Regions from separate parts of the Homo sapiens genome. Here region 1 is linked to region 2. The links are contacts of gene promoters, found by promoter capture Hi-C in human tissues and cell types (Jung and others, 2019). All regions are on one chromosome and are shown on one strand. The core of a region is centred on a gene start or on the middle of the fragment in contact, and the rest is flanking DNA. Distances in the headings are between cores, read along the strand shown.

Region 1 (6,211 bases), core at 2,909-5,408, 340 kb before region 2:
GATAGAAGATTGCTGGACCCAAAGTTTTAAATTCAGCAGGAACAAGCAGGCACTGGCTTGGACACAAAATTAGGTTTTAGCCTAAATTTTTGAGATTTGGGGAGTCACACTGGATGTATGGGACTCTGCACTTAAGTTCAAAATGTGTTAACTTGTGGCAGAGTAACAGAACTAGCAGGTCACATTTTGTTTTTTCTTTGAAATGCCTCGGGTTATTTCTTCTGGTGCACATCTTGAGAGCAAATTAAATCACATTTGGACATACCAGGTTACAGTGCCAGGCTCTAGTAATAAACAACTACTTTTGACTTTTATTATACTGAATCCCTACCTGTCTTGGTTACTCCCTTCTTTTTACTGAAACAGGGCCTTACTCTTACCCAGGCTGGAACACAATGGCACCACTGCAACCTACGACTCCTGGGCTCAAGTGATCCTCCTGCCTCAGCCTCCTGAGTAGCTAAGACTACAGGCACATGCCGCCATGCTCAGCTTTTTCTTTTTTTTTTTCCCTGAGATGGAGCCTCGTCCTGTTGCCCAGGATGGGGTACAGTGGCACGATCTCAGCTCACTGCCTCTGCCTCCTGGGTTTTAAGTGACTCTCCTGCCTCAGCCTCCTGAGTAGCTGGGATTACAAGCACCTGCCACCAAGCCCAGCTAATTTTTGCATTTTTAGTAGAGATGGGTTTTCACCATGTTGGCCAGGTTGGTCTTGAACTTCTGACCTCAAGTGATTCACCTGCCTCGGCCTCCCAAAGTGCTGGGGTTATTGGTGTGAGACACCATGCTTGTTCAACTGCTCCCTTTTTACTGACTTCTTTCCATTTATTCTGCCAGTTAAATTTCTCAAGACATAAAGCAGCTTATTTACTGAATTTGATTTATGTTACTGGGTAATGGAATGAGAAGGACTTCAGGTAATGGACATTAGTTCGTAACTCTCAAAATTCGGTTACTTTTTATGGAGGGCTTTGTTGCCTTAAGGTGTCAGTTTCTTTCCTTGTGCATTTTTCTGTATTGATACAATTAAACCATCTTCATGTAAGTAATCTAATCAACTCAATTATCTCAGATTTCTCTTCCTCCAGGTAATGTGTATGGATAAACATAGCTGGGCAACAACACAGACAAATCCTGTTCACATTTAACATTCTGGTTCAACTGAGCATCAGTTTTCTCTAACAGTGGTGGTGAGGATCCTAGTTAGGTTTGGCAAGGAAGTATTAATGATACAGGTGTGAAAAGCAAACACCATCTTTCAGAACCAAGTTAATTTCTCAAAAGAAGCAGAGACATTATCATTGCCATGTGTTTTTGGAATTAAGAATCATAAATATGCACTATTCTTGGGAGTACAAGTTTGGTTAAATAGGCAGCTATGAAAAACCTGGCAAACAGGAGCTATAGGAAAGAAAAATAATCAAACAAAAATCAATTATTATGTAGAAGAAAATTACAAAAGTACTTCAGAGCTCTTCTCCCTTCCTCCTGACTGGATTTCAGGGCAGGGCAGAATTTTGTGTCCTTGAATTCCTTTAAAAAGTTCAGACTGAGGTACAGTATGATTTTGGCCCTTAAGTAGGGAAATTTAAATATGCTTATGCCTCTTCTCCTATCTTAAATCCTTACAATCCTGCCCTCTCTAACCCATTATTTCTTGCCTTTTTCAGAGCCAAACTTCTTAAAAGTTTAAGTACCTACTTCTTTTCTCATTCCCATTTGTTCACTTGTCAAACCTCTGAAATCTGGCTTCTCCTCACTACTACATTAATTCAGTTTATCTGGAAAATGAGACAATCCAGCAACTCTTCACAGGGAAATACACGGCCAGTTGAAAAGTAACAAAATTTGCCCATAAATTGTCTCAAGAGCAGCAAGAAACAGAAGCAAAACAATTTTAGAAAGACACATAAACATGAATACTGAAAATGGAACAGTCATAGGACTGAAACTCAAGAAAGAGGCATAATGCCCAACATTAAAGATATGCAGAGTAAAGAGCTGAAATGGAGACTCTTGCATTTAGACTGCCAAATATAAAAACAAATAAATGTAAACAGTTTATCACCAAAATAACACTTTAAACTGTTGAGACTGCATAAATGTACCATACTACTGTTAGTATTCCATAGAAATAGCACATGACCAGTATGTCATTTAGATTACACATATGGAACATGCTAGTTAGCTGCAGTATTTTAATTGCAATGAAAGCACTCTGTAAGTATCTCTGCAATAGTATACTTTATACATTACCACTTAAAGGCAAAAACAAAATTCTTCAGTTATTTCAGGATATTTAAAAACTTAAGTTTTCCTATATAAAATACAAAACATTCACAAGGAAATGGCAGAATATGCTAATAATTGAGCCAAGAGAATACACACTGTGCAGTTTTACAGGGACAAGTACCAAGTAACTATAGAAGCTGTCACTTAATACCATATAAATGGCTAGAAGCCCCAGTATACGCCTGTAGTCCTAGTTACTTGAGTGGCTGAGGCAGGATTGCTCGAACCCAGGAGTCTGTGGCTGTCATTTGCTATGATCATGCTTGTGAATAGCCACTGCACTCCACATGGCTAGACCCCATCTCAAATAAATAAATAAATAAAATGGCTAAAAGTTTGGTCGGAGAGGGTAGGGAAGGAGGAAAGCTGTTTTATTTTGGCTCAGTCTTAAAAAAAATGTATCACTTAGGTACCTCAAGGATTACAGTTACTGAATTTTATCTTCTGGTGCTGGAGCAGCTCATCTCCAAGGTATTCAGTTTGATAAGCACCTATGTGTTATATTCATGAAATCAGGAGTTAGGTGTAAGAAAGTGACTTTGATGAACATTCCTTAAGTTTTAACCTTTAAGCAAGTTTATGTATAGGCAGCACCCTCAGATTCTACATCAAATAAGGCTTCATGAATACATGAATACTTCATGAATACATAACTGCATACAGCTGAACATCTCTGCATGTTTGAATTTCCTTAAGTGGCTATATTCATGAACATATTTACGCTCGGCAAGTTTATCTTCATATATTTATCCTTGCAAAGAAACATTTTCGGCTGGGCACGGTGGCTCACACCTGTAATCCCAGCACTTTGGGAGGCCGAGGCGGGTGGATCACGAGGTCAGGAGTTTGAGACCAGCCTGACCAACATGATGAAACCCGTCTCTAATAAAAATACAAAAATTAGCTGGGCATGGTGGCATGCGCCTGTAAATCCCAGCTAGTCAGGAGACTGAGGCAAGAGAAATCACTTGAACCCAGGAGCGGAGATTGCAGTGAGTCGAGACCGTACCACTGTACTCCAGCCTGGGCAACAGACTCCATCTCAAAAAAAAAAAAAAAAGTTTTCTAGTGCTCCCTTAATTATCCAAACCTGTAAAAAATTGAGAAATAAAGTTAACAGAGGACTCTCTTTTCCTGTTAATCATTACTATGGACATTTGGATTTCAAATCTTGACCTTGGGATATTTACTGCATTTATCTTCAGCAGCATATTAAGCAGCTAAAATTATGTAAATTTGTTTCAAACTCAAATTGGGTTACTAAGATTAAAAAGCACACTTTTTATTTTCCTGAGTATTGTTAACTAAAAGTAAAAATAAAAGTTTTCTCATTGTCCAGAATGAATTAAAGATTTTCCCTAGAGGACAGGCATAGTGGCTCACTCCTATAATCCCAGCACTTTGGGAGGCAGAGGCAGACGGATCACTTGAGGTCAAGAGTTCCAGACCAGCCTGGCCAACATGGTGAAACCCCGTCTCTACTAAACATACAAAAATTAGCCGGGTGTGGTAGTGCCTGCCTGTAGTCCCAGCTACTTGGGAGGCCGAGGCAGAAGAATTGCTTGAACCTGGGAGGCGGAGGTTACAGTGAGTAGAGATCGCGCCACTGCACTCCAGCCTGGGCGACAGAGCAAGGCTCTGTCTCAAAAAAAAAAAAAAAAAAAAAGTAATCTGTTAGATCTGTTAGCAAGATTATATGATTACATAATGGTACACTTGATGGGAATTAGGAACATACCGATATATTCCTGTATGAACTCAAGTCACTTAACCAGACCACTTCCTAAGCTGTAAAGAGGAAGCTTTGAATATTAAATGCTTATCTGAAACCATTTGGAAAAGCAAAGTTTATTAATACCACTCTGAAGTATCTGAAGCTCATACTCAATTATTTAAATTAGGAACTTAAGCTCCTCTATTAAAAGGAAAATGTGTATTTTCTTGTTGAAACATAAAATATAAAGCACATTTCATGTGTACTACTGTCTTAAAAATTGAGAGTCCAACATTAAAATTAAACAAGTATTGAACTGCATTATACAAGAAATCAAAATCATGACAAAAAAAATCCACTGTTTAAAGAGTAAAGAGAAACAGTGGTGAGCTTGCTGTATCATTAAAGACACTGAACAGGTAAGATAATTGGATTCTAATTCTGCCCTGCCTTTGCCATCAATGTACAGTGTGACCACTAGCAATTTTTAATTTCACTGTGTGCATGCCCATTTCCTTATCTGTAAAACATGGGCTGAGGAATTTGTAAGATTTCTCAGCTCTAAAAAGGGGTCTCTGTGACCTAAAAGATACTCTATTATAATATCATTTGTTCAAAGATCATAAATATTAACATCAATAACTTAAAAATTCAAGACTTAGGGCAAGAAAATTTTTATTTTCAGAAAATTCTAAACAATATATTGTCTCTGGATACTTCAGCTTTTAAGTTTCTGCATAACTATCATAATTTTACCACAGCGTTGAGCTCTTACTAGGTGTCTCTTAACATTAGACTTTCTTAATATTAGGCTAAACCCTCATTCTAAGAAATATACAGGTTAGTCAGGATATCATGGTTGGTCCCTTTTTTTTTTTTTTTTTTAAACGGGAGTTTTGCTGTTATTGCCCGGGCTAGAGTGCATTAGCACAATCTCGGATCACTGCAACCTCCGCCTTCCAGTTTCAAGCGATTCTCCTGCCTCAGCCTCCCAAGTCGCTGGGATTACAGGCACCCGCCACCACACTCAGTTAATTTTTTGTATGTTTAGTAGAGACGGGGTTTCACCATGTTGGTCAGGCTGGTCTTGAACTGCTGACCTCGTGATCCACCCACCTCGGCCCCAAAGTGCTGGGATTACAGGCGTGAGCCACCGTGCTTGGCCCGGTTGGTCCTCTTAAAGCTAAAACTGATCTCATCTCCTCTCACTCCCCTCTCCCTCCCACAATTGCCATGTGTAAACCGTTCACCAGGTAAATTCCTTATCTACACATTTTCAGAATTCATTCATGGGTATAATTAGCAATAAACCTAAAATCTTTCTCAAAGCTTTTGTTATTGTGTGACTTACTGCAAAAATACAAACACAGGATGTAGAGGACTACTCCACCCAACTCTTGTAGACTCACCTATAGTTTTAAAAACACAATACTTGGTTCTAACCCTGGAGATTTCAACAGGGATGGGAAGGTAACAGCCATATACTTTTAGAGCTGTATAGGTTATCCTGACACCTCTACTGAAAAAAACCCTTGCTCTAACAGCAATTGGCTTCATACTCTTAAATGAGCTACCTATAATTTTAATACAAATCCATGTCCTAATTCTCTTTATTATTTTTTTGAGATAGGGTCTTGCTGTTGCCCAGGCTGGAGTACAGTGGCTCAATCTCTGCTCACTGCCACCTCCACCTCCCCAGTTCAAGCGATTCTCCTGCCTCAGCCACCCTAGTAGCTGGTATTACAGGCGCACGCCACCACACCTGGCTAACTTTTCTATTTCTTGGAGATGGGGTTTCGCCATGTTGGCCAGGCTGGTCTTGAACTCCTGGCCCCAAGTGATGTGCCCATCTCGGCCTCCCAAAGTGCTAGGATTACAGGTGTCAGCCACTGTGCCTGGCCCTAATTCTTTTTTGAGAGATGAAAAGCTTTACCTCCTCTAGATATTCCTAATTCCACTTTAACAATATTTTCCTAAGTTGTGGTGTTTCTATGGGACACTGTTATTTTTTCAGAAGCTGGCCTCCCCAACTCCTCAAATATCAATTTTATAAATAAAATTTATAATGAGTGCAGGATTTTTTCATCTTTATGGTCAGATGTCCATTAGATACAAGGATAGAAAAACTTCAAACTACCCAAACACATGACAAATTATAGAAATCACTGTATTCTAGAGGTATCACTTCTCAAACACAAGCTTTCT
Region 2 (5,788 bases), core at 3,263-5,762:
TTGGGGCGAGTTCAGCCCTTGAGCCCCTGGGGGACTTGGTTCCCAAGGAGACTAATCCCACTTGCACAGCATTAAGCGTCACTGGGGTGAAAGAGCTCTAGTTTGGAGTTCTGCAGAGAGCCCCTACTGCAGGCTGGAGCCGGGTCCCTCTGCTCCATAGGAAGTGAAATGTATTGATGTCAAAGCCACTCAAATGAATGTGCTCACTCAGGGAGTAGGAGGAGGGACTGATGGGCTTGGCTAGAGCTGGCTACTAACTTTACTGAAACCAATTTCATTCCAGATAGAGCTCTTCCTCAAAGGAAAGGAGATCAAGGGAAAAAGCAGCCAAGGCCTTGAGGCTGGGTCTATATGTACAATTTAGTTGGACAGTGGAAGCTCTAAGGATTTATTTTGGTCTCAGGTATAGAATTACTTCAAGCAGAAGCTGTTCTTTGTTGCCCTATTGCCTACATTTTCCCATAAACACCACTGCTTTCATTTAGCCATGCCTCTGCCCAGGCTGTTCTCTCTGCCACAGATATTGTGTGTTTGCTTTACACAGTCAGATATATCATTTAAGTCTTAGCTCAAATGCTGCATGTCTATGCAGCCTTCTCCAACTCCTGTGGGCAGACTTGAGGGTCCTTTTACTTCCATTGGACATGTATCACATTATATTACAATGGCTTGTTTGCATATTTGTCTTTCCACCCAAAGGGTAGAAATCATGGCTTCTTATCTCTGTATCCCCAGTACTAGCATAGCGCTGAGCACATTGTGGGTGTCAATATCTTTCTGTTGGAAAAAATCAGTGACTGGATGGATATTTATTTGTAAGGATCAATTTTGTGAATCAGGCTATAGAACTTCTAAGCCATGAATTTCAGCTCCATGGTTTACAAAAACTTCAATTTCCATTATCTTATTGATTTTCACAATAGCCCTATCAAATAGGATTATGTTATTATTCCCCATTTATGGATGGGAACATCGAGGTCCTGAAGGTTAAGTGACTTTTCCATAGGCAGTCAGATAATAAAGGCAGGACTGGACTCCAGTGTCAGTCTCCGGCTCCAGTTTTAGCACTCTCTCTCCTGTATTTCATTGTCTTTTTGTAAGTTTCTACAACCCCCAAGTATAGCTACTCTCTTGCATTTGAAAATAGTCACTCACTTTGCTGAGGGAAAGGACAAATGATGCTGGTTTCATAGGGTAATGTGTTGGTAAGGAATGGGTGGGGCCTAAGGAATCAAGAACATGGACATTTGTTGAACTGCTATTTTGTGTGAGGTGCTTTTATATATACCATCTCACAACAACCTTGAGGAGTTGAGATTATCTCCACTGTGCAGGTGAGAAAAGTAAGATTCAGAGGCATTACTTGCCTGTTATGTCATGTAATTCTCACCCTGAGAACAATTATGACCATTCCCTTTTTTCAGATAAGGAGTTTGAGCCTTTGGAATATGAACTGACTTGTCCAAGCAGTTCAATAGCAATAGGCAGGGCCAGAATTTGAACCTGGCCTCATCTAACTTCAAATCAACTTTGATGTGCAGAACTCCAATAGAAATGAAGAAAGACTTTTACATATGAAGCTTTTCATATTCCATTTATTTTGAATATGATTTTAGGATTTAGATAACCCTGGGGATTAAGAGTTTTTTCGGAATAAGATGTCGATTAAATGTAGAGTACTGTGCAATTGGTGTCCAAGGACTTGTAAGAGTGCTCAGTTGACAGAAGGTGAAAAAAAAAAAAAGTTAGTGCTTTTGGCTGCCAGACCTGGAAGCCTATGGAATGGCCCTGTTGGAAAGGGGATGGGCAGTGCTGACATCCACATCTGGAGTGGAAGAAGCACAAATCAGTGACAGGTCTGCACAATTTTCTGAATGTGAATACCACCAAGAGTAAAACAGACAGTTCGGCCATGGAGGACAAAATGCTGTGTGTAACTCAAATGAAAAGTCCATGATAATTGAGCCAATTTGAATTTAAAATAAAAAGTTTGGCTCAGCTATGTGGGTTTGGGAAGTGGCTACTTCATCTTCTAAATGAAAAATGTTCATCTGGCCTTTTTTCTTTCTTTCTTTTTTATTATACTTTAAGTTCTAGGGTACATGTGCACAATGTGCAGGTTTGTTACGTATGTATACATGTGCCATGTTGGTGTGCTGCACCCATTAACTTGTCATTTACATTAGGTATATCTCCTGACGCTATCCCTCCCCCATCCCCCCACCCCACGACAGGCCCCGGTGTGTGATGTTCCCCACCCTGTGTCCAAGTGTTCTCATTGTTCATTTCCCACCTGTGCAGTGTTTGGTTTTCTGTCCTTGCGATAGTTTGCTCAGAATGATGGTTTCCAGCTTCATCCATGTCCCTACAAAAGACATGAAGTCATCCTTTTTTATGGCTGCATAGTATTCTATGGTGTATATGTGCCACATTTTCTTAATCCAGTGTATCACTGATAGACATTTGGGTTGGTCCCAAGTCTTTGCTATGTGAATAATAGTCTTTGCTATGTGCCACAATAAACATACGTGTGCACGTGTCTTTATAGCAGCAAGATTTATAATACTTTGGGTATATACCCAGTAATGGGATGGCTGGTTCAAATGGTATTTCTAGTTCTAGATCCTTGAGGAATCGCCACACTGTCTTCCACAATGGTTGAACTAGTTTACAGTCCCACCAACAGTATAAAAGTGTTCCTATTTCTCCACATGCTCTCCAGCACCTGTTGTTTCCTGACTTTTTAATGATCGTCATTCTAACTGGTGTGAGATGGTATCTCATTGCGGTTTTGATTTGTATTTCTCTGATGGCCCATCTGGCCTTTTTTCTTTGGTAAGGCTGTGCCTTCATGGTGTTCAAAAATGGTTTCGCTACATCTACAAAGTGAGGCTTAATAAAAAGAGTTTTGAAAGAGATGGTCTATGTCTCTCCTATGCAAGCTCTGTATCGAAACTAGAGTAACTTATTTAGAGAACACTTTATCACACACACAGTGTTTTCATATAGAGACAGTCCCCAACTTATGATGGTTCAACTTTATGATTTTCCAACTTGAATCAGTGTATTACATGCATTTTAACCTACAATATTTTCAACTTACAATGTGTTTATCAGGATGTTGTTGCTCTATCACAAATTGAGAAGCATCTATGATCTCACTTAATGCTCATGAACACCCTATGATCCAGAAGACACGTAAGGGATATAGTCACCTTTTTGTGTTTCAGAGAAGTAAGGGTGAATACTCATCCAGGCTATGGAACAATGTATCATTTAAATATCACAAGTGCCCTGTGGGGAGGGCAACTTTACCTGCATTTAACATGAGTAAGCTAAACAGAGAGAGTACGCTGGTTTGTCTAAAGCCATGCACTCAGCAGAGCAAGGATTTCAACCTAAGTCATGAGGTTATTGAGTGGTGGCTAAGACCAGAACCCAAGCCTCTTCTGAATCTCTTGTGAAAATGACCTTATTGCTCATTTTCTCTATCTATCCCAAAGAGGATTGCCCAGGTGAAATTAGTTTTAAGTGAACTTCATGATGATCCCTGAAATGCAATGAAAATTCCAGGGATAACCTAAATGGTATGACAGGTAGGGGAGAGGTTCCAATCCATCTTTTATTCTAACATGCTGAGAGTTTTATACACACACAGTGTTCTCAAGTAACAGGGGGCTTAGCCAGATCGACTCCTTTCTCCATTGCCTCCTGCTATGTGTTAATAAAAGATGGGCCACTGCTGGCCTCAATTTACTGTTAGCCAATTGTTACTCGTAACAATCAAGTGGCAAACAGTCAAGAAGAAAGAGCACTGGGCTTGAGAATCCTGGGAAAACTCAGGTTAGAATCTTAGGATCAGGTCTAGAGCTTTAAGAAATACTCATTTTCCTTCCCCATCTTAATAGATGAGAAAGGCAAGGGCAAGAGAGGACGCAAGTATTGTCAAGGGCTTAGGAATGGCTTTGGAGTCAGAATGGGCTAGATCTGACTTTGGCCAACTCACTGAACCTCCCTGAGGTGCAGTGTCCACGTTTGTTGAATGGCGATAACATGTAATTCACAGGGCTGTTGTTCAAGGATTAAATGAGATAATAGATGGACAGCGCCTGGCAGAAGCAAGCGCCCAGAAGCTGGTGGGTGTTGTTATACAGCTGGACTGAAACCCACGTCTCTAGACTCCTGCCTTCTTGCCTCAGGAGAGGCACCACCGCAAGTACCTGCAGAAGCCTATCAAGCGCTGCAGCGGCCTCATGGGCCTGAACTGGAGTTTGAGACCAGCCATCTCTTCCTCACCCCTTGCGGTTAGAGGAGTCAAGAGAAACACCACGGGGCAAAGGGAAACGAAGGAGTTAAGGCGTTGAGCTTCAGAAAGCTCAGAAAACTAAAGCGACCCCCCACTCCTCCAAGCCAGGCTAAGTAAGCCCCTCCCCTCTACCACCGGGACGGTCGCCGCGCGCTCCCTCCCTCCGCCCCTTGCTTACAAGACCTAATGAGCTCCCCCGGGAGGCAGCGCAGCGAGCCAGGCCCGGAACTAGTAGGCTGCGCCGCGCGCGCCGCGCCGGGGCGGGAGCTGGGTCTGGGCGGCGGGCAGGAGCTGGCGGGGGCGCACGGGCAGCGCTGCGGACAGCCCGGGAGCCGCGGCGATGGCGGTGCAGGCGGCGCTCCTCAGCACGCACCCTTTCGTGCCCTTCGGCTTCGGGGGCTCCCCGGACGGGCTAGGGGGCGCCTTCGGAGCCCTGGACAAGGGCTGCTGTTTCGAGGACGATGAGACCGGGGCTCCGGCGGGTGCGCTGCTGTCGGGAGCCGAAGGAGGGGACGTGCGCGAGGCCACCCGCGATCTACTCAGCTTCATTGACTCGGCGTCCAGCAACATCAAGCTGGCGCTGGACAAGCCGGGCAAGTCGAAGCGGAAGGTGAACCACCGCAAGTACCTGCAGAAGCAGATCAAGCGCTGCAGCGGCCTCATGGGCGCCGCGCCCCCCGGCCCGCCCTCCCCGAGCGCCGCCGACACGCCAGCCAAACGGCCGCTGGCCGCCCCTAGCGCCCCGACAGTCGCGGCCCCGGCCCACGGCAAGGCTGCCCCCCGGCGGGAGGCGTCGCAGGCCGCCGCGGCCGCCAGCTTGCAAAGCCGAAGTCTGGCCGCGCTCTTCGACTCGCTGCGCCACGTCCCCGGGGGTGCCGAGCCGGCGGGGGGTGAGGTGGCTGCGCCGGCGGCCGGGCTAGGAGGTGCGGGCACTGGGGGCGCGGGAGGGGACGTGGCAGGCCCCGCGGGGGCCACGGCGATCCCAGGGGCCAGGAAGGTCCCGCTGCGGGCACGCAATCTGCCTCCGTCCTTCTTCACGGAGCCGTCCCGGGCAGGCGGCGGCGGGTGTGGCCCGTCGGGGCCGGACGTGAGCTTGGGCGACCTGGAGAAGGGCGCGGAGGCCGTGGAGTTCTTTGAGCTGCTGGGGCCCGACTACGGCGCCGGCACGGAGGCGGCAGTCTTGCTTGCCGCCGAGCCTCTCGACGTGTTCCCCGCCGGAGCCTCCGTACTGCGGGGACCCCCGGAGCTGGAGCCCGGCCTCTTTGAGCCGCCGCCGGCAGTGGTGGGAAACCTACTGTACCCCGAGCCCTGGAGCGTCCCGGGCTGCTCCCCGACCAAAAAGAGCCCCCTGACTGCCCCCCGCGGCGGCTTGACCTTGAACGAGCCCTTGAGCCCCCTGTACCCCGCCGCTGCGGATTCTCCCGGCGGGGAGGACGGGCGGGGCCATTTGGCCTCTTTCGCCCCCTTCTTTCCAGACTGCGC

The links. Contacts are between HindIII fragments. The study calls those that stand out against the background at their distance.
Region 1: a fragment that was not itself captured here is called in contact with the fragment with the promoter of FAM181B in region 2 in 1 of the 25 tissues and cell types used here (dorsolateral prefrontal cortex).

What each region holds. Positions count from the first base shown.
Region 1 is chr11:83,074,205-83,080,415 of GRCh38, reverse strand. All of the region lies in intron 2 of LINC02951 (long intergenic non-protein coding RNA 2951), which reads left to right. Among named protein-coding and RNA genes, the nearest start is that of RAB30-DT, 5.2 kb to the right of the region's middle. The HindIII fragment of the contact is 6,094 bases long and covers 1,112-6,211 here.
Region 2 is chr11:82,732,588-82,738,375 of GRCh38, reverse strand. FAM181B (family with sequence similarity 181 member B) reads left to right here and starts at 4,512. Exons shown (of 1, transcript NM_175885.4): 1 at 4,512-5,788. The coding sequence starts at 4,647. The HindIII fragment of the contact is 21,418 bases long and covers 1-5,788 here.